Linked DNA regions of Homo sapiens: region 2 is linked to region 1. The links are contacts of gene promoters, found by promoter capture Hi-C in human tissues and cell types (Jung and others, 2019). All regions are on one chromosome and are shown on one strand. Each heading gives the region's core, a stretch centred on a gene start or on the middle of the fragment in contact. The rest is flanking DNA. Distances are from core to core; before and after follow the strand shown.

Region 1 (2,603 bases), core at 55-2,554:
GTAATTAACCGATTAAGAACTGTTTACTTGGTCAGGCGCGGTGGCTCACGCTGGTAATCCCAGCACTTTGGGCGGCCGAGGAGGGCGGATCATGAGGTCAGGAGTTTGAGACCAGCCTGGCCAATATGGTGAAACCCCGTCTTTACTAAAAATACAAAAATTACCTGGGTGTGGTGGCACGTGCCTGTAGTCCCAGCTGCGCGAGAGGCTGAGGCAGGAGAATCGCTTGAACCCAGGAGGCGGAGGTTGCAGTGAGCCGAGATTATGCCACCGCCCTCCAGCCTGGGCTACAGAGCAGGACTCCGTCTCAAACACAACAAAACAGAAAAAAACTCTTTGCTCAATACTCCTATGGACTTAATAGCAATGATTGCTGCTAATGTGATTCTAATACTTTTTGGGCATGCCATCATTGTTTAATTTCAGAGCAAACTTTCTGGAACTGATAAATAATAAGCTCTCCTTAAGAAATTAAAGTGCATTAAAATAAATTGCTTTCAGGGGTTCTTAAACAAGTTCAAGACATCCAGGAGTGTGATACATTTGAGCGAGAAATAGCTGGCCTAGTTCACTCTCCACATTAATCAGAACGTCTCCCACCTTCTTTTTAGGGATAAGCACTCTCAAATATCATTATTCATAAACTAGGGGAGGGCCGGGTTTCCACTCGCATCAGTTACTTTCTCTCCCCTGAGAATATCTTGCAGCCGCTGGAATTTTGGGCCCCTTTGCTAGGAGGCAATTAACAAATTGCACTTTTACTATCAAAGCTGAGAGTGGCCCAGCAGTGGCCCTGGCCCTGCCGGCACGCTTCCGATGCGTCGCCCTGGCCTGAAGATCGCCACAGTCGGGTTCGCGCCCCGTGGTCCCCTAAGGCTTCCAGGGCGCTGGAGCTGGTGCACAGGACCTGCTCCTCCAGGGTCCCCATCTGGGTCTCCAGCGGTCCTTCCTCTCTGCCTTCTCCTCGCAGAGCACCCCGTGGGCCTAGTCTAAACGAGGGCACCACTGGTCCGGAGTTGCACTTGTTCGCTCCCTCCTGGGCTCTGGCAGCGCTGCATCCCCGGGGTTGCTTCGGGTTCGGGCCCAATAGCAGAGTCAGAGCCGAGACGCATGTCCCCTGCACCGGCCAAGGGTGCCGCTGGGGCTCGCGCCAAGGAGGCAAAGGCGGGGACCAGAGGCGCCGGAGGCGGCGCAACGCGCACAGGTGGCGCCCGGCCTGGCCAGGCTCTGGCAGGCGAGGCTGGGTGTGGTCGTGAAGGGGCGGGCGGACCGGCCCCACACTGCCTCGGTTCGGCAAGTGGGTCAGTTGGCTGGGGCTCACTTGGCAACGGGACGCGGGAACGAGGGGCGCGGACGCAGGCCCGGGAGGACGCGGCGGCGGGAACCTGGGGGCGCAGGGCTAGGGCAGCGGGCCCGACCCGCACGGCTTTCCTGGAAAGCGCTGCCCCTCGCCGCGGCGATGCCCTCGCTGTGGAGAGAAATCCTCTTGGAGTCGCTGCTGGGTAAGCCGAAGCCCCTCGCCGCGAGTTCGCGGGTGCCAGCTCCCCGGGCCATGTCCAGAGCCGTGGAGCCAGGCCAGGTTGGCTGAGTTCAGGTAGGAGGAAAAGGGCGCTCCGTGCCCAGAGTGGAGATGCTTATCGTCCCCTGGGAACTTTTCCTACTGAAGGGAATAAAGGAAAAGACCTAGATTGAAGTCTTCAAGCTGAGTCTGCGAGGCGCCCGCGAGAGACCCCGTCGCCCGAGTTCCCAGCAGCCCTGGGATTGTGCCCAAGGAGCGCGAATTCTCCTCGTGTCGGCCTTGACCCCGCGCGGCCGGTACCGTCCCCAAAGCCCCCCACCCGTGGCCTTTAAGTTTAACTTAATACAGTTCAGTGCTGAACTTTAAAATTCAGAAGGAAAGGGGCACCCGTTTTCCCCAGGAGCTGTAGGTGGACACTGGGCGGCAGCTGCTGCCGTGGGCTGGGCCCAGGACAAGTGGCCTTGGTGTCGGCTGCACACTTGGGCATTTGGCGAAAAGCATCAGACTCGAGTCTCATCTGCTCTCTCACCAGCTTTGCAAAATCCCGAGGACAATTTTATTGGTGTAATTCTGTCGGAGCTGTGTGAGTAATAAAATCAAAGTTCCCAGACAAACATTTGGGATATTGCTAGAATCCCCGGTTCGTTACAAAACAAAGATCCCTCTGGTCTGGGTGGGGCGCCTTCCTGAGAACTTGATTTTCTGGGAGCTGGTAATTCTCGGGAGTGCTTCAGACTATTTTTTTCTGGCTCAGCCTGTATCTATAAGTTGGGAGATGTACAGTGCCTAGCATTCAATAAGTACCTCAGGTGCTAGGTACTCAGTGCACTTGATCTCATTTAATCCTCCCAACAACACTGTGAAGGGGTTGAAAGTCCTATTTTGCTGATTAAGAAGGGGAGGTTGGAAAGTCAGTTGGTAGAAAGTTCCCACGCCCAGTGGTTAGACCGGCTACCTTTGGAGCCAGGCTGCTTAGAGTTAGGGCAACTCTGACATTTGCTACTTGTGTAACCTTAGGTACTCACTTAACTTTCTGAGTCTCAGTGTTTTGTTTGTTGTTTTGTTCTTGCTTAGTTAGTTTTTG
Region 2 (2,603 bases), core at 78-2,577, 380 kb before region 1:
TGACTTCATTAGGAAATAGGTCATTGCAGATCACATTAATTAAGTTAGGATCGGGAAGACCCTAATCCACATGACTGGTGTCCTTTTAAAAAGGGGAAATTTGGACACAGACATACACTCAAGGAGAATGCCATGTGACAATGAAGGCAGGATTCAGAACCATGCTTCTACAAGCCAAGAAACACAAAAGATTTTCAGTGCACACAAGAGGCTAAGCAAGGGGCATGGAGCAGGTTCCTCCTCACAGCTCTTAGAAGGAACCAACCTGCTGGCACTTTGATCTCACACTCTAGCCTCCGTAAATATGAGACAATATACATTTCTGTTGTTAAGCTATCCAGTTTGCAGTACTTTATTACGGCTGTCCTAGCAGGCTAATAAACCTGGACACAAAAGCAAATATGGTATAAAAGAATCAGGCAACACGATGATAATGGACCATTGTCAAGTGCCTCTCTTCCTACAACCTGCTCCTTTTGACGAACTGCCTTAAAAACTAAAACCTAATCTCAGCCATCTGGGAGAAAAAAAAAGGATGATCAAACAAAGGGTGAAGTACAAATGATCATTTGGAAGGGATAAACAGTAATTCAAACAACTTACAGGAAAAGAAATCAAAGTGCATATCTAATAAAAGACTAAAACTGACATGACTTATACATGATAGCCTGTTTTCTTTTTTATAAAATGAGCCCAATTCATATGGCTAAAAACTGGGTGGGAGGAAACGGGGGCTGTGTAACTCAAATAAACCACTTGCAAACCTTTAATTTATGAGTTTTGTGTGTCCCCATTTTTAAAAATCTTCAATGCAAAACAGGTTTTAAAAAACACGTCAATCACTCTCATTAATATTTCAAATTCTTAACTTTTAAAACAATTCTCTGTTCACCTTTTCAAAACATGCTCTAAAGGTAGGACCTGAATACTACAAACCAATTCATATAAGCCCATAGGTCACAAGTAAGTGAATTCAATGTTTAAAAATGAAAGCCAAAACAGTTCAATTTTTCAACATGTAATACATTTCTTCATTTTTGAGATTTTAATTAGAATAAAATCTGAACAAAAAGAATGTAATTAATCTCCATTTCTAGCCAAGATGGAGCTGGATTTCCCCTACCATCTGCAACAACCAAAAAACAAAATACATGAAACGATCTCTAAAACATTGTATGATCAACAAAAGGAAGAGACCTCTGAGCAACAGGGAGCAAATGAGACGAGCCTTCCCATGGCCACAGCTTATTGTCATGTAAGTATTTTTAGGACAAAAAATAAAAGTATAAGGTTGATAAGGTTCTTGTATAACACACAAATGGTATGAAAATAAGAAAAATACTTACAGCAGCTACAGGGATAAGAATCTCCACAAATAAACCAGCAAGTGCATGTTTTATATCTTTATCTTTCACTTCTAAGAAATACTGAGCACATTCCTTAAAGGGAAAGAGGTATATACTTAGATTAACAAAAGAGGAAAGGTTAAAGAATTTGTAATATCACATCATTTTGTGAACACTCTGTCATTTTACCAAAAAACTAAGGTCAATGCATCTTCAAGTCAAAAAACAAAGCTGGCTGGGTGCGGTGGCTCACACCTGTAATCCCACCACTTTGGGAGGCTGAGGCGGGCAGATCACCTGAGGTGAGGAGTTGGAGACCAGCCTGGCCAACATGGTGAAATCCCGTCTCTACTAAAGAAAAAAAAAAAAAAAAAAAAAAAAAATTAGCCGGGCCTGGTGGCAGGCGCCTGTAATCCCAACTACTCGGGTGCCTGAGGCAGGAGAATCGCTTCAATCAGGAAGGTGGAGGTTGCAGTGAGCCGAGATCATGCCACTGCACTCCAGCCTGGGTGACAGAGTGAGACTCTGTCTCAAGGAAAAAAAAAAAATTAATTTACACTTAGAACAACTTAACACATGGAATAAGAGACTAAAAATGATGCCATTAATTTACGTGTATTTTGTTTCTTTTAAAAAGTCATGAAGAGCAAGGACTGTTAGGCTTGCTCTATTTACTGTCATTTAGAAGGTATATCACCTGCATAAATTGAAATGATGCTTCAAAATCTTCTACAGGATACATTTTTACTCGAAAAAATTTCATTCCCATTATTAAGCTGATGACACTTTGTACCACATGTGGGCTTTGTTCCTTTTGTCGCAGTTCTTTTAATTCTGTCACAAACTTCTTCCTTACAGCCTGAAACCTTTAATATACGTGGAGACATCATTTGATTTGAATTAAAAACACTAATTTCCACATGATATTTAAGGGTAAAAATCAAAAGGTATGCTACCTAAATATCATCTCCTTTCTCTACCTTCATTACAATTGCCAGAAAGGCACACAGAGGAAAATAAAAATTGCTACTCTAAATTTGCTGTTCATTTCTTTTAAAATTAAATTAAAAGTTTCTGAAGGAGAAATAATAGGATTTCTTTATTCCTATAATATTATCAAGACACCACCATTACCATTTAATTAATAACCATAATAGAATAATATCAAATAACCAACCCACAAAACGCCACCATGTAAATCAGTGTCTCCAACTTTTAAGGCTCTTTTTATATAAAGTCTGCAATTAGTTATATGGA

The links. The method cuts DNA at HindIII sites, captures the fragments that hold promoters and counts their contacts. A contact is called where the count stands out against the background at its distance.
Region 2: a contact is called between a fragment that was not itself captured here and the fragment with the promoter of CWH43 in region 1, in 2 of the 25 tissues and cell types used here (dorsolateral prefrontal cortex and mesenchymal stem cells).

Annotation. Positions count from the first base shown.
Region 1 is chr4:48,984,971-48,987,573 of GRCh38, forward strand. It overlaps CWH43 (cell wall biogenesis 43 C-terminal homolog), which reads left to right and starts at 1,305. Exons shown (of 16, transcript NM_025087.3): 1 at 1,305-1,502. The coding sequence starts at 1,460. The HindIII fragment of the contact is 14,941 bases long and covers 1-2,603 here.
Region 2 is chr4:48,604,395-48,606,997 of GRCh38, forward strand. It overlaps FRYL (FRY like transcription coactivator), which reads right to left. Exons shown (of 64, transcript NM_015030.2): 10 at 2,044-2,212; 11 at 1,347-1,439. Among named protein-coding and RNA genes, the nearest start is that of ZAR1, 120 kb to the left of the region's middle. The HindIII fragment of the contact is 7,255 bases long and covers 1-2,603 here.